Regions from separate parts of the Homo sapiens genome. Here all the other regions are linked to region 1. The links are contacts of gene promoters, found by promoter capture Hi-C in blood cells and fetal thymus (Javierre and others, 2016). All regions are on one chromosome and are shown on one strand. The core of a region is centred on a gene start or on the middle of the fragment in contact, and the rest is flanking DNA. Distances in the headings are between cores, read along the strand shown. Region 1 holds the start of KCNQ5 (potassium voltage-gated channel subfamily Q member 5). Region 2 holds the start of EEF1A1 (eukaryotic translation elongation factor 1 alpha 1). Region 3 holds the start of DDX43 (DEAD-box helicase 43). Region 4 has its middle 22 kb from the start of C6orf147. Region 5 overlaps C6orf147 (chromosome 6 open reading frame 147). Region 6 overlaps C6orf147 (chromosome 6 open reading frame 147). Region 7 has its middle 25 kb from the start of KHDC1L.

Evidence for each region. The method cuts DNA at HindIII sites, captures the fragments that hold promoters and counts their contacts. A CHiCAGO score of 5 or more calls a contact.
Region 2: a contact is called between the fragment with the promoter of EEF1A1 here and the fragment with the promoter of KCNQ5 in region 1, in 4 of 17 cell types (naive CD8 T cells, non-activated CD4 T cells, activated CD4 T cells and 1 more). The highest score is 9.8, in naive CD8 T cells.
Region 3: a contact is called between the fragment with the promoter of DDX43 here and the fragment with the promoter of KCNQ5 in region 1, in 1 of 17 cell types (naive CD8 T cells). The highest score is 5.6, in naive CD8 T cells.
Region 4: a fragment that was not itself captured here is called in contact with the fragment with the promoter of KCNQ5 in region 1 in 1 of 17 cell types (total CD8 T cells); the score reaches 6.2 in total CD8 T cells.
Region 5: a fragment that was not itself captured here is called in contact with the fragment with the promoter of KCNQ5 in region 1 in 5 of 17 cell types (fetal thymus, naive CD4 T cells, total CD4 T cells and 2 more); the score reaches 9.3 in fetal thymus.
Region 6: a fragment that was not itself captured here is called in contact with the fragment with the promoter of KCNQ5 in region 1 in 1 of 17 cell types (fetal thymus); the score reaches 5.9 in fetal thymus.
Region 7: a fragment that was not itself captured here is called in contact with the fragment with the promoter of KCNQ5 in region 1 in 3 of 17 cell types (M2 macrophages, total B cells and M0 macrophages); the score reaches 9.7 in M2 macrophages.

What each region holds. Positions count from the first base shown.
Region 1 is chr6:72,620,576-72,623,411 of GRCh38, reverse strand. KCNQ5 (potassium voltage-gated channel subfamily Q member 5) reads right to left here and starts at 1,348. Exons shown (of 14, transcript NM_019842.4): 1 at 825-1,348. The coding sequence starts at 1,222. KCNQ5-DT (KCNQ5 divergent transcript) reads left to right here and starts at 733. Exons shown (of 3, transcript NR_186827.1): 1 at 733-880. RefSeq lists silencers at 14-63, 1,094-1,353 and enhancers at 1-663, 2,774-2,836. The HindIII fragment of the contact is 6,363 bases long and covers 1-2,392 here.
Region 2 is chr6:73,519,572-73,522,407 of GRCh38, reverse strand. EEF1A1 (eukaryotic translation elongation factor 1 alpha 1) reads left to right here and starts at 1,376. Exons shown (of 8, transcript NM_001402.6): 1 at 1,376-1,408; 2 at 2,352-2,525. The coding sequence starts at 2,382. RefSeq lists a silencer at 619-848 and enhancers at 571-1,393, 1,429-1,508, 1,559-1,668, 1,394-2,215, 1,959-2,258 and 1 more. The HindIII fragment of the contact is 5,848 bases long and covers 1-2,836 here.
Region 3 is chr6:73,393,389-73,396,224 of GRCh38, reverse strand. It overlaps DDX43 (DEAD-box helicase 43), which reads right to left and starts at 1,397. Exons shown (of 17, transcript NM_018665.3): 1 at 1,070-1,397. The coding sequence starts at 1,319. It overlaps LOC124901538 (small nucleolar RNA U13), which reads left to right and starts at 2,212; the gene lies at 2,212-2,312. It also overlaps a transcript of OOEP not described here. RefSeq lists an enhancer at 1,280-1,780. The HindIII fragment of the contact is 12,904 bases long and covers 1-2,836 here.
Region 4 is chr6:73,330,833-73,333,668 of GRCh38, reverse strand. It overlaps the pseudogene PAICSP3. Among named protein-coding and RNA genes, the nearest start is that of C6orf147, 22 kb to the right of the region's middle. The HindIII fragment of the contact is 264 bases long and covers 1,204-1,467 here.
Region 5 is chr6:73,304,662-73,307,497 of GRCh38, reverse strand. All of the region lies in intron 2 of C6orf147 (chromosome 6 open reading frame 147), which reads left to right. The region is part of intron 1 of LOC122539213 (KHDC1-KHDC1L); the gene reads left to right. It also overlaps a transcript of KHDC1 not described here. Among named protein-coding and RNA genes, the nearest start is that of C6orf147, 4.3 kb to the left of the region's middle. RefSeq lists an enhancer at 1-110. The HindIII fragment of the contact is 7,042 bases long and covers 1-2,836 here.
Region 6 is chr6:73,278,908-73,281,743 of GRCh38, reverse strand. The region is part of intron 3 of C6orf147 (chromosome 6 open reading frame 147); the gene reads left to right. All of the region lies in intron 2 of LOC122539213 (KHDC1-KHDC1L), which reads left to right. It also overlaps a transcript of KHDC1 not described here and the pseudogene KHDC1-AS1. Among named protein-coding and RNA genes, the nearest start is that of KHDC1, 17 kb to the right of the region's middle. The HindIII fragment of the contact is 6,698 bases long and covers 1-2,836 here.
Region 7 is chr6:73,199,350-73,202,185 of GRCh38, reverse strand. No RefSeq gene overlaps it. Among named protein-coding and RNA genes, the nearest start is that of KHDC1L, 25 kb to the left of the region's middle. The HindIII fragment of the contact is 6,966 bases long and covers 1-2,836 here.

The DNA.
Region 1 (2,836 bases), core at 99-2,598:
ACACACACACACACACACACTCTTTGACTCCGCGCCACAAACGGGGACTTAACCCACTGCCCGATCTCTGTCAGAGGCGACCCATTTGCGCTTCTGCTATCGCACCTCCGCCCGCGTTCCTGCGCCCCAGGTTCCCCGCTGCCTCCCCGCCCCCTGCAGCGCGGGAGCGTTGCTTCGCCTGGCCTGCTGGCCTCCTCTAGACCTTGGCCACCTTCTCCGTGGCAGGAAGGGCTACATGCACTGACAGATTTTCCGTTGGTGGTGGCTGGGTGGTGGCGAGGCGTGTTTCCGGGCGCGCTTAAAACCTAGCAGCTCTCTCCAAGTAGCAGCTTCCCCTACTCCGCCCCTAGGACTGAGGACCTAGCCCTCGATGCCCCCTCACTTCTCCCCGTCCTACCCCGCCATCACCTCCTAACCTCTCCAGTATACTCTCAAGCCTCACACGGGCGCCTGTCCTCCCTTTGCATTCCCTAGCTCCCGGGCGCCCCGTTCGGTTGAAGTTTACGTATCTTGGGACCTAATTGCTCCCAATTATCCGCGCAGCCTAAGTCCCGCGTCTGCCTGGCTCTCGCCCCGGGAGCCTGAAGCTACCGGGCAGTTCATTGGGTGTCCTCGGGGAAAAGGTTCAAGCTGTAGAGATGAGAGAAGTGGGGCTGGGGGAGGGGAGAGGCTCCAGAAGGAAGACCACGAACACGTGCGAAGAAATAAAAGCCACCACGTGTGCACGCGCGCGGGGGCCCAAGGGCGCGAGCGCGGAGCACGCCCCAGGGGGCCAGGGACAGTGGTCCCCTGCAGCGGGCATAGCAGGGGGCGCGGGTACTCACACGAAAGCGTGGTAGATGAACGCCCAGCCGCGGGGTCTCTCCAGCACGTTGTACAGGTAGTTCTGCACCCGCCGGTACTTGACGTTGCGCCGGCAGCTCTGGCTACTCGTGTAAGAGAGCGGCTTCCCCAGCAGGCTCATCCGGGCCCCCTGCTTGCCCCGGCGGCTCTCCCTCAGGCCACCGCCGCCGCCACCGAGCGTGGCCGCGCGGGTGCCCAGCAGTAGCAGGCCGTCGCCCCTGGCGGCTGCCGAGTTCAGCAGCACCCTGCCCCGGCCGGACTCCACATCCTTCATGCCGCTGCCCAAGCGCCCCCCGCCCGCCGCCGCCGCCGCTGCGCCGCTCTTCACCCAGAGCCCGGCGGCGCCGCCCTCCTCTCCTCCCGCGTGGTGGCGGGGCATGGCATCACCACGGGCACCGCGAGGGGGCCGCCAGCGCCTGCGGCGGGGGCAGCGGCCTCATGTGCGCCGGCGGGTTTCAAGGAGGAAGCCGGCGGCCGACGGGGCGCCCGCCAGCCAGAGACCTCTGAGCCGGGGGCGGGGAAGCAGGCAGCCAGCAAACCGCCCGGGCTTCGGGGCGGGAAAGGAGGGGCTGCAGAGGAGGCCGAGGAGTCCCAATTTCTAACAGCCTTTAGCTTCGAATTCTAAATCCGGACCTGTTTGGGGCGTCACTTTGAGAGGGTTTCTCTTGCTCCCTCATTCCCGCGACTACCACTCCCTCCTTCCCAAACTGCCCCCGGGGATAGAGTGGGGGAGTGCGGGGCGCTCCGAGGCGCGCTCCCACGCGCGCACACCCAGCCCCAGGCTTCCCCTTCCCTCTCTCCACTCCCCACGCCCTGCAGCGAAACGGCCCCAGAAGCCCCTCTCCGAGGCGCGAGTTCGGTTTGGTTCTGGCAGGGGCTTTGCAGCTGTCCGGAAGGTGAAGTCAGCCTTGTGTCCTGAGGAGAAACTGGAGATGCAGGTCGCTGTGCCCTCCCGCTGCTACGTCGCTGCGCCGGATCCTGCCATCCTTCCGCAAGGGGTGAGAGCGGGAACAGCCCTGCCCTGCCTTCCAGGTATTATCTAGCCTGGAGGCTGGAGCGCAAGGTAACGCTCCGGGAAGTGGCACTCGGGTCCCCGCACACGGGCGAGTCCTCAGCAGTTCAGTGGACAGACCCGCAGGACGCGGCTGCCAAGTCCGCGAGGCAAGGACCAGGCATCTTCCCGCGCCTCACTCCAGCCTGCGGACTGTGACTTTCCATCCCAGTATCAGACAAGCTCGCGAGTAACTGAACATCCTTTCCAGTCCATGGGTGGGGTGTGGAAAGGGCGTAAAACTCCAAAGTGGCTCCTCCGCGGTGAGCGAGCTGCCCCGGGGCTCTGCCTGACTGCAGCGCGAAGCCTGGGAGAACAAACCCAGTTCCCTCCGTCAAGAAATTTCCATTTAAGTCCGAGAAAGTCATATGATTGAGAAGTTCAGCAGCGGCGGCGAGGACCCAGTGTCTGGGAAAGAACACCTGGAGGATGGGGTGTCCAGGACGCCGGCTTTTCGGGGTTCCGACCCCACCCACCTTATGTTGTAACATACAAGCTTAGAGACCTGTTGCAAGGAACAACTGACTGGGTCTTCCACCACCCCTGGCACCCGGGTGGCCCAAAGCCTATGCGCCCTTGGCGGAGAGAGAGGCCACGGTGCCACTGGCCGCAGCCTCTGGCCTTCAGAAACAGTGTATTACAAAGAAAAGGCAGTTTAAATCTCACATTCAGCATAGGGAAAACTGAAGGGTGCCAGGCTCGGGGACTTCTTCCAACAGAGTGGCTCTTCCCCAAATATGAAAGAAAATCATCAAATTAAATTGAAGGCAAAACTAAGCTTCCACCACAAAGACATAGCAGATAGTTGCAAGGTGGATTCCTTCGGGCCTTTTCCTTTCCTAAGGCTAAAACAATGCTAAGACAAAAGTCTTCTTGCAGCTGTCTCCGCCCCTCCGAGATAAATACTTTCCCAATTCTCCCCCACCCTGTACACACACCCAC
Region 2 (2,836 bases), core at 127-2,626, 900 kb before region 1:
TTGTTAATAAATAAGTTTGTTCGAGAAGCTGGGCAATGATATTCTACAGCTGGAAGAAGAAACATAATGATCTAGTAATTAGCTCATTAAAAATAAACGTTCTTCTTTCCTCAGAGGAGCATTTCCCAAGGCCTGCCTTGATAGCCATCCAAAAAGGCCAAGCTCATCCAATCTTGCCCTAGATTTATGCTAAAATGCAGTTACAATCGATAGGATGACAGAAAACGACAGCACTTATTTAAATATAATAGGCACTTATTTAAATAGGAGAAGCTGTGACTTCATAGCAAGTGTTGGGGTTAGGAAACTGGGTGGATAAACTTGCTGATGCTGTAGATCTTAGCCTCTACATGAGATCATGTGGAAAATCTGAAAGCATTTTAGGTTCCTTATGTTTGCAATCAAATAACTGTACACCTTTTAATTTAAAAAGTACCATGAGGCACACACACACACTCGCAGGAACTTTTTGGCGTAACAAAACTAGAATTAGATCTAAAGCTAACTGTAGGACTGAGTCTATTCTAAACTGAAAGCCTGGACATCTGGAGTACCAGGGGGAGATGACGTGTTACGGGCTTCCATAAAAGCAGCTGGCTTTGAATGGAAGGAGCCAAGAGGCCAGCACAGGAGCGGATTCGTCGCTTTCACGGCCATCGAGCCGAACCTCTCGCAAGTCCGTGAGCCGTTAAGGAGGCCCCCAGTCCCGACCCTTCGCCCCAAGCCCCTCGGGGTCCCCGGGCCTGGTACTCCTTGCCACACGGGAGGGGCGCGGAAGCCGGGGCGGAGGAGGAGCCAACCCCGGGCTGGGCTGAGACCCGCAGAGGAAGACGCTCTAGGGATTTGTCCCGGACTAGCGAGATGGCAAGGCTGAGGACGGGAGGCTGATTGAGAGGCGAAGGTACACCCTAATCTCAATACAACCTTTGGAGCTAAGCCAGCAATGGTAGAGGGAAGATTCTGCACGTCCCTTCCAGGCGGCCTCCCCGTCACCACCCCCCCCAACCCGCCCCGACCGGAGCTGAGAGTAATTCATACAAAAGGACTCGCCCCTGCCTTGGGGAATCCCAGGGACCGTCGTTAAACTCCCACTAACGTAGAACCCAGAGATCGCTGCGTTCCCGCCCCCTCACCCGCCCGCTCTCGTCATCACTGAGGTGGAGAAGAGCATGCGTGAGGCTCCGGTGCCCGTCAGTGGGCAGAGCGCACATCGCCCACAGTCCCCGAGAAGTTGGGGGGAGGGGTCGGCAATTGAACCGGTGCCTAGAGAAGGTGGCGCGGGGTAAACTGGGAAAGTGATGTCGTGTACTGGCTCCGCCTTTTTCCCGAGGGTGGGGGAGAACCGTATATAAGTGCAGTAGTCGCCGTGAACGTTCTTTTTCGCAACGGGTTTGCCGCCAGAACACAGGTAAGTGCCGTGTGTGGTTCCCGCGGGCCTGGCCTCTTTACGGGTTATGGCCCTTGCGTGCCTTGAATTACTTCCACGCCCCTGGCTGCAGTACGTGATTCTTGATCCCGAGCTTCGGGTTGGAAGTGGGTGGGAGAGTTCGAGGCCTTGCGCTTAAGGAGCCCCTTCGCCTCGTGCTTGAGTTGAGGCCTGGCTTGGGCGCTGGGGCCGCCGCGTGCGAATCTGGTGGCACCTTCGCGCCTGTCTCGCTGCTTTCGATAAGTCTCTAGCCATTTAAAATTTTTGATGACCTGCTGCGACGCTTTTTTTCTGGCAAGATAGTCTTGTAAATGCGGGCCAAGATCTGCACACTGGTATTTCGGTTTTTGGGGCCGCGGGCGGCGACGGGGCCCGTGCGTCCCAGCGCACATGTTCGGCGAGGCGGGGCCTGCGAGCGCGGCCACCGAGAATCGGACGGGGGTAGTCTCAAGCTGGCCGGCCTGCTCTGGTGCCTGGCCTCGCGCCGCCGTGTATCGCCCCGCCCTGGGCGGCAAGGCTGGCCCGGTCGGCACCAGTTGCGTGAGCGGAAAGATGGCCGCTTCCCGGCCCTGCTGCAGGGAGCTCAAAATGGAGGACGCGGCGCTCGGGAGAGCGGGCGGGTGAGTCACCCACACAAAGGAAAAGGGCCTTTCCGTCCTCAGCCGTCGCTTCATGTGACTCCACGGAGTACCGGGCGCCGTCCAGGCACCTCGATTAGTTCTCGAGCTTTTGGAGTACGTCGTCTTTAGGTTGGGGGGAGGGGTTTTATGCGATGGAGTTTCCCCACACTGAGTGGGTGGAGACTGAAGTTAGGCCAGCTTGGCACTTGATGTAATTCTCCTTGGAATTTGCCCTTTTTGAGTTTGGATCTTGGTTCATTCTCAAGCCTCAGACAGTGGTTCAAAGTTTTTTTCTTCCATTTCAGGTGTCGTGAAAACTACCCCTAAAAGCCAAAATGGGAAAGGAAAAGACTCATATCAACATTGTCGTCATTGGACACGTAGATTCGGGCAAGTCCACCACTACTGGCCATCTGATCTATAAATGCGGTGGCATCGACAAAAGAACCATTGAAAAATTTGAGAAGGAGGCTGCTGAGGTATGTTTAATACCAGAAAGGGAAAGATCAACTAAAATGAGTTTTACCAGCAGAATCATTAGGTGATTTCCCCAGAACTAGTGAGTGGTTTAGATCTGAATGCTAATAGTTAAGACCTTACTTATGAAATAATTTTGCTTTTGGTGACTTCTGTAATCGTATTGCTAGTGAGTAGATTTGGATGTTAATAGTTAAGATCCGACTTATAAAAGTTTGATTTTTGGTTGCTTCTGTAACCCAAAGTGACTAAAATCACTTTGGACTTGGAGTTGTAAAGTGGAAACTGCCAATTAAGGGCTGGGGACAAGGAA
Region 3 (2,836 bases), core at 148-2,647, 770 kb before region 1:
ATCTCAGCACTTTGGGAGGCCGAGGTGGGTGGATCCACAGGAGTTCGAGACCATCCTGGGTAATATGGTGAAACCTCATCTTTACTAAAAACACAAAAATTAGCCAGGTGTGGTGGCGCACGTAATTTCAGCTACTAGGGAGGCTGAGGTGCTAGAATCGCTTGAGCCCGGGAGGTGGAAGTTGTAGTGAGCCGAGATCACGCCACACTGCACTCCAGCTGGGGCCACAGAGCTGCCTCAAAAAAAAAAAAAATCAAAAGAAAGAAAAAAATTAAAAATTCAGAATTGAATGTTAACACTCAAGATGTAGTAAGAAAAGTTTTTAACTTTTTAAAAATTAAGGAAACTAAAAGCAAGATACAACTGCTCTAGGCAGCCCTACAATGACCTTATAGCTTTTCTTTGATTTCTGGCTCTAAATGGTACTCATAGAAAGACTGATTAAGTTTTGTTTTTCATTCTGGGGTTAGCTGTCTGTTAAAAGGCCTGTTCTAAGCATCCCTCTTCAGCCCTAAGATTTCATAAGTCTTCTAGGAGTTGCTCTCCCAAATACATTGTCTGTATAAACACCAAAAGGTGGATTAAATTACTTTTTTTTTTTTTTTTTAATTGAGACGGAGTCTTGCTCTGTCACCTAGGCTGGAGTGCAGTGGCGCGATCTCAGCTCACTGCCAACTTCTGCCGCCGGGTTCAAGCCATTCTCCTGCCTCAGCCTCCGGAGTATCTGGGATTACAGGCGCGCGCCACCACGCCCAGCTATTTTTTTTAATATATATATTTTTAGTAGAGACAGGGTTTTGCCATGTTGGCCAAGCTGGTCTCGAATTCCTGACCTGGGGTGATCCGCCCGCCTCGGCCTCCCAAAATACTGGGATTACAGGCGTGAGCCAACGCGCCCGGCCAGATTAAATTATACTCTATCCCCAGGTTTTACAAATAGCTCTGGGAGAGACCTGAACCTCACTAGGTGGCAGCTGATTGGAGGTGAGGCAGTGGGGAGGAAATGCCTTCGCCCAGGCTCCGCCCCTGGCCCCACCTATCCTGCCCTGCCAGCCACTCCCATTCTCACCGATTACCGCGCCAACAAAGTGGCTCTTCAAAGCAAAACACAGCGGCAGTTCCTCGTGACCAGCGGCCACGGCCTCCGGGGGCCTAGAGGTGCCTCTCCAGCGACCACCTCTGCCGACACTATATCCCTCAGGACCTGTTCGATTCAACTCCTCCGCCGGCCTCCTCTCTGGCGCTCGGGACACTGTCGAGCTTCGCCGACTAGCAACGACCCACGTAGAGGCCTTGGGAGCTCCTCCGTGGTGGGACATTGTTCCAAGAAGGGGCGCGTCCGACGTCGTTGCCGTCCAGCTCTGCACCACCTGACCGTGACGTCGTAAGAGTAGCGTGCCAGGGAAGCCACGCAGCCGCTACTTAAGGAGCCCGCACGAGGCTAGCCCCCCCGCCCACGCTCTCTATCCCGCCCACTTCGCACTGATTTCACGCAGCCATTGGCCAGTGAGCGTTGTGGGCGGGACTTTCCCAGTTTTAGCCAATCGGTTTTCTGAACCGTGGGAGTGTGCCTTGAAGTAGTCGATGTGCCCCGCCCCCCACCCCCCCACTGTGTATTCCTTTCCAGGCGTGGGACTTTTTCCAAACGCCCAATTTGCTCCCTCCCCTACTGGACACACACCTCGGGTTCCTGGCATCTCAGTGCCTTGGAAACTTTTTTTTTTCTTTTTAAATAGAGACGGGGTGTCGCCGTGTTGCCCAGGCAGGTCTTGAACTCTTGGCTTCTGGCTTCAAGTGATCTTCCAGCCTCGGCCTCCCAAAGTGCTGGGATTACAGTCAGCCACTGCACCGGAAATGTTTTCAACCGTGACCCATAAAGGTAAGTCACTGTTACAAGGTGACCCAATCCACACATAAAAAACTTGAAACAACAGATTGACAAAACAGCATTTATCCTCGCTATGTAAGCTGCATTTTGATACATTTACGCTTATTTTAGTTTTTGAAATGGTTGTAATCCACAAAATTAAAAAAAAAAAATTTAATAGAGATGGGAGTTCCCAGTATGTTGCCCAAGGCTGGTCTTGAACTCCTGGACTCAAGTGATCCTCCCACCTCCACCTCCCATAGTGCTGGGGTTACAGGCCTGAGCCACTGCACTCGGCTCACAAAATGTATTTAATGGCCCACAGCTTAAAGATCACTGACTTGATCCTTTTGTAAGTCATAAGTGTGATTGGGTTTTCATGCTCTTGTGTCAAATGTGCCTCCCTCAAACCTTGTTACGAAGTGGGCACACTACCCACCTGATGTGAAAAATGAAGAGAAAAAGATCACTGGCTTGAGAGACATTCATTGCTCTACACAGTCTTCTGGATGTTTGCTATGTTTTTTTTGTTTGTTTTCTTTTGTTTTGTTTTTGACCTCTGTCGCCTAGGCTGGAGTGCAGTGGTGCGATCACTCACTGCAGATTCGACCTGTTGGACTCAAGTGATACTCCCACCACAGCCTCCCGAATAGTTGGGACTACAGGTGTGCACCACCATGCCAGGCTAATTATTTTGTAAAGACAAGACCTCCCTATGTTGCCCGGGCTGGTATCCAACTCCTCCTGCCTTGGCCTCACACAGTTGAGGGATTACAGGTATGAGCCACAGTGCCTGGCCTGCCATAATTTTAGAGCTAAGGAAATAAATTGAATAGATTCCTGAAGCATTACCGTCACTGCAGCCTGGCTCTGTGGCTGGACATACTACTACTCCAGGGCTTCAAGCCAGCTGCAAGTGCACTCCTTTGATTAGGATCTTTGAATTATCTGAACAAATTTCAGTTTAGG
Region 4 (2,836 bases), core at 86-2,585, 710 kb before region 1:
GGGCACATGGGGAAATTTCTCAGATAATTTTCTCGGAGTGTGCTTTCTGTGATGTAGGATATGTTTATGGTTTTCATAACCAATTTTACTAAATATGAGTACATTGAGCACCAGAATGTCTGTACCAGTCTTCGTTTCTGCCAAAAATGCATTGTGTCAGTTTCTTCCCATTCTCAAAATTTTCATATACCCAGTTTTTTTGGTCAGACTGTATGAATAAAATAGTATCTTATTTTGTTATTTTTCACTCTTTTTATCACCCCCATTTAAATTTGGTGCCAAGAACTGAGGCAATTGCAGGAGTTGCTGATGGCCTCGCAAATCTTAACCCTGTCACTTGGGTTAAGACCATCGGAAGTACTACGATTGTAAATCTCATATTAATCCTTGTGTGCCTGTTTTGTCTGTTGTGGCTCTTGCACAGATTTTTCTTGCGTTGCCTTTTCTTTTCCGTATCTACTACCACTTTCTTAGGTCAGGCTCTTAACACTCATTTTGAATTCAGCAATTGATGTTTTGATCTAACTGTTTTCTCTGCCTCCATATTTAGCCCCATCATAACTCTATTTCACATTGCCACCAAATCTGATTGTGAAATCCCCTTAAATCATTCAGTGGCACTGACATCCGAGCCTTACAGGATAAAATCTAACCTCCTCAGCATCACGCTATATTGAAATTATTTAAATACCCACTTACCTTCCAATGGCTGGAAAGCACAGAGACAGGAACCCTGTCTAATCATTTTTGCAGCCTGGCACATAACATGATTTCTCTCAAAAGCATTCACTTTATCTCTTGAACTGAATCCTTGCTCTTTTTCTTCTTGCCTGCTTTGTGCTTCCACCACATCCACTCTGCTGGCCTGGGCCATCTTGCTGGTGTCCTTTTCAAGACAACAAACGATGGCTCCAATCTGGTCCACAGGAAGCAGCTGCCTTTGCTCCTCTTTTCATGGACGTGTAACCTCTTCTCACTGAAGACACTTCTTGCTTGTGGGAGCTAGGGTAGCTGGCCAGCCTCTTGCCTTAGGACTAGTTAGGCATGGGTCAGTTACCAGCCTCCCCATTCCCAAATTCTAGAGGACACAGGGCAAGCTCTCTGAGTGGTACTTCTGAAGCTCTCTACACTTGTCTTTATCAAATCTCTACCAGTGATCAAGCTTCCCTTTTATACCCACAAGGTGGGCAATGGGCTGAAGCTTGTCTTACCTACTATCATTTTTTAAAAAATAGATTTGTGTGTGTGTGTGTGTGTGTGTGTGTTTGTTTTGTTTTGTTTTAGACTGAGTCTTGCTCCATCGCCCAGGCTGGAGTGCAGTGGTGCGATTTTGGCTCACTGCAACCTCTGCCTCCTGGGTTCAAGCGATTCTCCTGCCTCAGCCCCTTGAGTAGCTGGGATTACAGGCACTTGCCACCACGCCTGGCTAATTTTTATATTTTTAGTAGAGACATACCCAGCCAAGCTTTCATACTAAGTCTTGAAGTGAGATATTGTCAGTCCTCTGACTTTGGTTTTTCTGTGCCTTATTGTTGTAACCTGCATTTCCCAGCAGTTAGGTATATTATCTGATATACTTGTAAGTCATTTATTTTCCCTTTCTGTGAATTACCTAATCATGTTCTTTGGCCATTATTTTATGGGGATCCAGATCCTGTTTTTGTTTATTTGCAAGGATTCCTTCCATGGTTTACATATCAATGTCTTTTAGTTTAGTTGTGTGTGTGTGTGTGTGTGTGTGTGTGTGTGTGTCTGTGTGTATTACAAGTATCTTCTTCAAATCTGTCACCCATTTGTTAACTTTGTGATGTCAATTGTTGAAAAGAAATCCTTAAATATTAGGTATTTGGGAGATACTTATACAATTTAACTGAGCATCTTATATTTTACCTGCCAACCTTAACTATGAAGTTTTCCTTCCATTCCATATCCTCTTATTTTCATGGGTTTGCTATGAAGGATTGTTTCTGTTGTTGTGTTTTTCTACATGTTGTAAATAGCCAACTTTCTTCATTTTTAGTTAGGGACTAAGTCCATGGTAGAGAGATAATCAGCCAATTCTTTTTGGTCATCTTTTTCTTTTCTTTCTTCTTTCTCAAGATGGGGTCTTACTCTGTCACCCAGGCTGGCGTGCAGTGGCACAGTCATAGCTCACTATAGCTTTGAACTCCTGAGCAGAAGAGATTCTCTTGCCTCTACCTCCCAATTAGCTGGAACTGTAGGTACATGCCATCTCACTTGACTAATTTTTTATTTTATTTTTATTTTTATGAGAAGGAGTCTCAGTCTGTCACGCAGGCTGGAATGCAGTGGTGCAATCTCAGCTCACTGCAGCCTCCGCCTCCTGGGTTCAAATGATTCTTGTGTCTCAGCCTCCTGAATAGCTGGGAGGCGTGTGCCACCATGCCCAGCTAATTTTTTTTTTTTTTTGTATTTTTAGTAGAGATGAAGTTTTGCCATGTTAGTCAGGCTGGTCTTGAATTCCTGGCCTCAAGTGATCCCCCTGCCTCAGCCTCCCAAAGTGTTGGGATTACAGGTGTGAATCACCACTCCCGGCCAAAGATTGAACATCTGACCACAGGGTTTTTTTGTTGTTGTTTTTTGTTTTTTAATTTTCTAAATCCTTTTAGTTGTTCTGGACAAACCAGTATAAGATGGAAACTTAAGTAGTACACATGAGTTTTATAATTTATCCATCTCTGGCAGATAGCTAAACATAGCACATCAGAGCATAACACAATGTGAGGCAAATACAGTGTACAATGACATTTTCTTCTATTCTGGAGCTTACAATTCAACAGAGAAAGAATTACTTGTAGTCATTGTGGTCACAAAA
Region 5 (2,836 bases), core at 252-2,751, 680 kb before region 1:
ATTGCAAACTCCAGCTTTTAAATAATGCTCTAATGATTTTATTTAATTAATTAATTAATTTATTTATTTATTGTGAGACAGGGTCTCGCTCTGTCGCCAGGCTGGAGTGCAGTGGCCTGATCTCGGCTCATTGCAACCTCCGCCTCCCGGGTTCAAGCAATTCTCTGCCAGCCTCCCGAGTAGCTGGGATTACAGGCGCCCGGCATCACGCCTGGCTAATTTTTATATTTTTAATAGAGACGGGGTTTCACCATCTTGTCCAGGCTGGTCTTGAACTCCTAACCTCGTGATCCACCCGCCTCAGCCTCCTGGGTGCTGGGATTACAGGCATGAGCCACCTTGCCCGGCTGCTCTAATGGTTATATAATAAATAATTTACATTAGTTTAGTGTTGATCAGTGTTCTTTCCAGGGTAAAAGGAAAAACATTTTCAAAAGGTAGTTGTGTCTTCTCACAGTGTTTGGGGGTTTAAGTGAAAGTTTTATTTTCTCTCTTTCTTCCTGGTCTGTCACCCAGGCTGGAGTGCAGTGGCACAATCTCAACTCACTGCCATCTCTGCCTCCTGGGTTCAAGCGATTCTCCTGCCTCAGTCTCCTGAGTAGCTGGGACTACAGGCGTGCGCCACCACACCTGGCTAATTTTTTTGTATTTTTAGTAGAGACGGGGTTTCACCGTGTTGGCCAGGATGGTCTCGATCTCTTGACCTCGTGATCTGCCTGCCTCGGCCTCCCAAAGTGTTGGGATTGCAGGCATGAGCCACCACGCCCAGCTAAGTGAAAATTTTCTAAATAGTCTTCAACTCCCACCCCCACTGCCCCGGGGCACCAACCCCCACCCCAAGCTAGAAGGAGGGTATTATCTATTCTGGGGAATTCTGTCCAGCAGTCCAGTCAGATGAGGGCATGAAATAGCTCCTTGGTTTGTGAACCACAGGGCTCACTGCTAGCTTTAGCACAAGCAGTTCAGTTGCAGGAGTGAGATTCTCAGAAACCAGGTTGGAGTGAGTTGAAAAATTTAAATGGGGATGCATGTGGAATATGTTTAGTGGACGTTTTTAGTAAGCAGAACTGATGCTCCTGGATGGGAAAACCTGGGTAATTTTTGTTGGGATGGGGAAATAGCTGGGAACGGAGAGGCTGGGGGAAGAGGGAGCTTAATTACTCGGGGTGTCGGGTGAGGGAGGGCAGAGTTGATGCAGTGGGAGGGAGAGTCTAGAGGTAGCAGCCTCCAAGCCCCAGTGAAAGCAGAGGGGTTGTGATTTAGAGCTCTGGTGGAGGGGAGCAGTTTCTGGTAGAAGGAGGAGTATAAGTAGGAGCAGGAGGCAGGAAGGGTGAGGATTCAGGGAGCTATATGGAAAGATTCATTCTGGTTGAAGATAAAGAATACTCATTTTGTTTAATCCCTGATTACTTAATTTATGACTACTAATTAACATTTCCGCAATAAAAACACTAAATGCATATGTACCTGCTTTCATAACTAATAACCCAAAACTTACAGACTTAAAAATATAATTTGCTCAATTTAAAAATAATCAGAGGCCAGGCGTGGTGGCTCACACCTGTAATTCCATCACTTTGGGAGGCCAAGGTGGGCAGATCACTTGAGGTCAGGAGTTCAAGACCATCCTGGCCAACATGGTGAACCCCGTCTCTACTAAAAATACAAAAATTAGCGGGGTGTGGTGGCGGGCTCCTGTAATCCCAGCTACTTGGGAACCTGAGGCAGGAGAATCACTTGAACCCAGGAGGTGGAGGTTGCAGTGAGCCAAGATCGTGCCACTGCACTCCAGCCTGGGTGACAGAGTGAGACTATGTCTCAAAAAATAATAATAATTAAATCAAAATCCAATATATTATATTCTCTTAAATGCTAAAAACTTTTAAAAGTAGCTAGAATATCTTAAAAATTTATTTGTTAACCTTTGAGGGCTTGCTCAAGTGCCAGGTCCTTTCTGTTTTGGATGTGTGCTCTTCTTCAATATTCAAAGAAGCCCATGAGATTGGTTCTCTGATTACTGCCTTGAATTTCAGACACAGAGAAACTAAAAAACTTATCTAAAGTCACTCATCCAGTAAATGGAAAAGTTGAGGTTTGAATCTTGGCTCTTATGCTATGTTGTCTCCTTATGATTGTAGTGAATACAAAATAGATAACAGTTTCATTGAAACCAGTTTAAGAAAGGCGAATTCCATGACTTCAAATTTGTTTCTTTATTATCTCTCTCTATATTTTTTATATTATATATATATTTTTGAGATGGAGTCTTGCTCTGTCACTTAGGCAGGCTGGAGTGCAGTAGCGCAATCTTGGCTCACTGCAACCTCTGCTTCCCAGGTTCAAGCAATTTTCGTGCCTCAGCCTCCCGAGAAGCTGAGATTACAGGAGTCTGCCACCATGCCCAGCTAATTTTTGTATTTTTAGTATAGATGAAGTTTCACCATATTGGCCAGGCTGGTCTTGAACCCCTGACCTCAGGTGATCTGCCCACCTCAGCCTCCCAAAGTGCTTGGATTACAAGTGTGAAGCACTGCATCTGGCTTCTATACTTATTTTAATACTGGAATGGGATGCAATTTGTTATATATGTTCCCAGAATTGCAAAAATATTACCAGGATATATCTTGATACTTTGGGTTTTAGTAGTTTTCAAAGACCTCCAAAGAAAACGCATCCCAGACCAGCTATGTTGGTGACTGATAGATTCAGAAAGGAAACTGGACCTTGTTTCACAGTCCAGTTCTGTGAAACCTGAGCCAATTATTAGGCTAAGTCTAGCAATCCACTCATTATGTTGCCAACCTTTTCTTTGATTTTACTTAATTTTTGTTTTAAA
Region 6 (2,836 bases), core at 227-2,726, 660 kb before region 1:
ATAAAGTATGGGCTTTAATATAAGATGTTAATAATAGGAAAAACTGAGTGTGGAGTAAATGGGCACTCTGTACTATCCTCACAACTCTTCTGTAAATCTAGAACCCATTTTTTTTTTTTTTTTTTTGAGACGAAGTTTCACTCTTACTGCCCAGGCTGGAGTGCAATGGCGCGATCTTGGCTCACTGGAATCTTTGCCTCCTGGGTTCAAGCGATTCTCCTGCCTCAGCCTCCCAAGTAGCTGGGATTACAGGCGCCCATCACCACGCCTGGCTGATTTTTTATATTTTAAGTAGAGACGGAGTTTCACCATGTTGGCAAGGCTGGTCTTGAACTCTTGACCTTCAGGAAATGCTGGGATTACAGGTGTGACCCACTGCACCCAGGTGGTTTTTTGTTTTTTTTTTTGAGAGAGTCTCGTTCTGTCACCCAGGCTGGAGTGCCGTGGCATGAGCTTGGCTCACTGCAACCTCTGCCTCCCAGGTTCAAGTGATTCTCCTGCCTTAGCCTCCTGAGTAGCTGGGATTACAGGTGTGTGCCACCACGCCTGGCTAAATTTCTATTTTTAGTAGAGACAAGGTTTCTCCATGTTAGGCTGGTCTCAAACTCCTGATCTCAGGTGATCCGCCTGCCTTGGCCTCCCAAAGTGCTGGGATTACAGACAGGCACCACCATGCCAGGCTAATTTTTGTATTTTTAGTAGAGACAGGGTTTCCCCATGTTGGCCAGGCTGATCTCAAACTCCTGACCTCAAGTGATTTGCCCTACTTGGTCTCCCAAAGTGTTGGGATTACAGGCGTAAGCCACCATGCCCAGCCAAAACTTCTAAAGGATGTGCTTTAGGAAGAAGATATATGATCACAGAAGGGAGTTCTGGGGAAAATGCAAACTGACAAGATTTAAAAAGCTATTAAAAAAGAAATTAGGTTGGGCATGGTGGCTCACACCTGTAATCCCAGCACTTTGGGAGGCCAAGGTGGACAGGTCACCTGAGGTCTGGAGTTTGAGACCAGCCTGACCAATATGGAGAAACCCCATCGCTACTAAAAATACAAAATTAGCTGTGTGTGGTGGTGCATGCCTGTAATCCCAGCTACTCGGGAGGCTGAGGCAGGAGAATCACTTGAACCTGGGAGGTGGAGGTTGCGGTGAGCCGAGATTATGCCATTGTACTCCAGCCTGGGCAACAAGAGTGAAAAGAAAAAGTCTCAAAAAAAAAAAAAAAAAAAAGAAATTAAAGACCATTGTAATTCACAAATAAATCACATAAAAGGATATGTTTGGCTTGGCATGTTGGGTCATGCCAGTAATCTCAGCACTTTGGGAGGCTGAGGTGGGCTGATTGCTTGAGCCCAGGAGTTCGAGACCAGCCTGGACAACATGGCAAAACCCCATTTCTACAAAAAATAAAATACAAACATTAGCCGAGCATGGTGGTGCATGCCTGTGGTTCCAGCTACTTGGAAGGCTGAGATGGGAGGATCACCTGAGCATGGGTAGGTAGAGGCTGTAGTGAGTTGTGATTGTGCCATTGCACTCCAACCTGGGTGACAGTGAGACTGTCTCCTCAAAAATAAATAAAACAAAAAAGGATATATTTAATCTTTATTAATTTTAATTTGAAGGAGGGTAAATATCTGGGTATTATTTCTTCTATTAAGTGTAGGACTGGCTATCACATTTCTCTAACTATAAAAGTAGAGAAGGATGGATGTAGTAAACTGTGAATAGGCCAAAGGAACGCAGAAAAAGTAGGAACTATACCAAGAACAGGAATGATGAGCAACAATGATGATCACATACAAAATAACAAAATAGAAAGAGGGCCCAACAGTACCTTACAATAATGATGTAATAATACCTCATCTTGGCCGGGCAAGGTGGCTCACGCCTGTAATCCTGGCACTTTGGGAGGCCGAGGTGAGTGGATTGCATAAGCTCAGGAGTTGATCAGCCTGGCAACACAGCAAAACTCTGTCTCTACGAAAAATATAAACATTAGCTGGGTGTGGTGGTGGGTGCCTATAGTCCAAGTTACTTGGGGGACTGAGGCAGGAGGATTGCTCGAGCCTAAGAGGTCAAGGCTGCAGTGAGCCATGTTCGCCACTGCACTCCAGCCTGGGTGACAGCGACACCACATCTCTTCAAAAAAAAAAAAAAAAAAAAAAATCCATGGTCCCATGTTATCATTGAGGCAAATGGAGAAAAAAATTTCAATATATTTTCCCAATTATTAATATGCAATTTTCGCAGACTTTTCTTGATACTGTAGAGCATATAGAGAGATTTATATACAGTCAAATGTCCATATAGTTGACTTGGTTTTTTATTTTCATTTTTATTTTTTGAGACAGGCTCGGTCTGTCACCTAGGCTGGAGCGCGATCTTGGCTCACTGCAGCCTCCACCTCCCAGGTTCAAGCAATTCTCCTGCCTCAGGCTCCCAAGTAGCTGGATTACAGGTGTGCGCCACTATGCCTGGCTAAGTTTTTTGTATTTTTAGTAGAGACGGGGTTTCGTCACGTTGGCCAAGGTGGTCTTGAACTCCTGACTGCAAGTGATCTGCGAGCCTTGGCCTCCCAAAGTGCTGGGATTATAGGCATGAGCCACCATGCCAGATTGACCTGGTTTTTATTCATTAATACCACATGCATTAATTAAGGCTAACTGGTTGATAAATATGCAATCACTGTAACAGTCAATCATCTAGTGTTTAACTGTGTACCTAGGGTCTCAGTAGTAGAAGAATACAGATTTATCATCCATGCCAAAAAGGAGTTTGTAGCCAAGTGTGAGAGAATGTATTCACATGAAAAGTGACAAAGAGGCAGGAAAAAC
Region 7 (2,836 bases), core at 111-2,610, 580 kb before region 1:
AGGCAGGAGAATGGCGTGAACCCGGGAGGCGGAGCTTGCAGTGAGCCGAGATCGCGCCACTGCACTCCAGCCTGGGCGGCAGAGCCAGGCTCCGTCTCAAAAAAAAAAAAAAAAAAAAAAAAAAAGAGGAAGAGAGGGTACTGGAAAGTTGTTGGTAACATGGGAGAGGCTTAAGCATACTTATGAGGGGAAAGGGTGAGATGCTGTAGATATGGGGAAGGGGAGGGGCAGCAGGTGACAACCAAGGGCTTGGGAACCCAGAGTGGAAGAGTTAGTTTACCCTAAAGGCAAGGAGTGGCCAGGCGTGGTGGCTCATGCCTGTAATCCCAGCACTTTGGGAGGCTGAGGTGGACGGATCACCTGAGGTCAGGAGTTCAAGACCAGCCTGACCAACATGGTAAAACCCCATCTCTATTAAAAATACAAAAATTAGGCCAGGCGTGGTGGCTAACGCCTGTAATCCCAACACTTTGGGAGGCGGGGGAGGGTGGATGACCTGAGGTCAGGAGTTCAAGACCCAGCCTGGCTAACATGGTGAAACCCCGTCTTTACTAAAAATGCAAAAATTAGGTGGGCATGGTGTTGCATGCCTGTAATCCCAGCTACTCCGGAGGCTGAGGCAGGAGAATTGCTTGAACCCAGGAGGTGGAGGTTGCAGTGAGCTGAGATTGCACCATTGTACTCCAGCCTGGGCAACAAGACCAAAACTCCATCTCAGAAAAATAAAACAACAACAACAACAACAAAAAATAAAACCCCAAAATTAGCCAGGCGTGGTAGCACACACCTGTTATCCCAGCTACTAGGGAGGCTGAGGCAGGAAAATTTCTTGAACCCGAGAGGTTGAGGTTGCAGTGAGCCGAGATCGTGCCACAGTACCCCAGCCTGTCTCAAAAAAAAAAAAAAAAAAAAAAAAAAAAAGAGAGCAAGGAGCTCCCATCCTGGAGTGGGGTTTGCCTCCTCTCCCACCAAGCAAGCAGAGGGATTTCTGGTAGCGGGGGTAGAACTGGGCATTGCAGCATTGGCCAGAGGGCTCAGATGAGGAGCGCCAGTGCCAGCACTTCTGAAAAGCATCTATGTGTTGGGGGTGTGCATGGTGTGATGTCCTCATGGCTTAAGTGAGGGTGAGTGGCACCCTGAGCTGCAGCAAGGGGAGGGTGTGAGTACCTAGTTACTTGGGGGGCACAGGAATGGATAGGGATTGGTGATACAGGAAGTGAGTCACAGCAATGCAGGCAAAGGAACAGAGAAGGAAGAAGCAGCAAGTAATGGAAAGAGATGAGTGTCACCAAAGATAAAAAAAGCTGCTGTGCACGGTGGCTCATGCCTGTAAATCTTAGCACTTTTAGAGACCAAGGCGAGTGGATCCTCTGAGCTCAGGAGTTTGACACCAGCCTGGGCAACATGGTGAAACCTCGTCTCTACTAAAACACAAAAAATTAGCCGGGCATGGTGGTGTACACCTGTAATCCCAGCTACTCAGGAAGCTGAGGCACGAGAATTGCTTGAACCTGGGAGGTAGAGGTTGCAGTGAACTGAGATTGCACCACTGCACTCCAGCCTGGGTGACAGAGAGAGAGACTGTGTCCAAAAACAATCAAACAAAACAAACAAACAAACAAAACCAAAAAAACCTAAAAAAGCATACAAGTGAAAAGTTCTAAAAGTAGGTGCAGGTGTTATGACAGTGTATGGAAACCCTAGAACCCTGATATCTATCCTAGAGCATACTGGACTTAAAATAGTCGCCAACATTGTGACAGAAAAGAAGTAAATCATATGACTAGGCAAAGAGTAATATATCATATCAATGTACCTTTGACCTTCCTATTTATTTGAACAGGAAAGTTTTGCCATTCACCAGTTTTTGTGGTGCTGTGATTTCCAGAGCAGTGCCTAAATCGATAGTTTGTGCATAATGTATCTGCTACGTTTCTGTTTTGAAATGTAGCAAAAACTTCAGTAATTTGGAATTAGGTGGGCTAGAGGGAGAAGTCTTGTCGCAGTTAATGAAAATTTGTTTTATTTAATTAATTAGTTTATTTATTTATTGAGATGGAGTCTCACTCTGTTGCCCAGGCTGGAGTGCAGTGGTGTGATCTCTGCAATCTTGGCTCACTGCAACCTCTGCCTCTCGGGTTCAAGCAATTCTCCTGTCTTAGCCTCCTGAGTAGCTGGGACTATAGGCGCACACCACCACGCCTGGCTGATTTTTGTACTTTTAGTAGAGGTGGGGTTTCACCATATTGGTCAGGCTAGTCTTGAATTCCTGACCTCAGGGGATCCAACTACCTCGGCCTCCCAAAGGGCTGGGATTACAGGCGTGAGCCACTGTGCTCAGCCTATTTTTATTTTAAAAACATTTTTAGATTTCTATTTTGTTTTCAAATCTCAGAGCTGTGTGAGATAAAATTTAAGTTTTTCAAAGAAACAATTTTTACTTGTACCAGATTCTCAAAGCAGTTGAATCTAGACTGATAGAAGTTGTCACTTGAAGATCTGGCAGCCCATTTTCATGAATGGTTAGGATAGAATAACTGTTGTAAGTATATTTTGCTTTAAATGGAAGGAGTGGGAAGTACTGCTAAAGTATTTCCAAAAATGTTTGGAAGCGGTTTAACATTTTTAAGTTGGTCAAGCAAGCATATACCATACACAATTTTCTTTTCCCTCATCTAGAAGTTGATAGAACAGGCACATAACTATTTGATCTCTTTAGAGCAGTAGTGGGAAGCCCTTTCTTCCCTCTAGGATAACACTCTGTAATTCTTCCTCCTGTCTAAAACATCTCTATCGGGCTTTGTTGCTTTGTATTCCAGAGTTTTAACATTCTGTA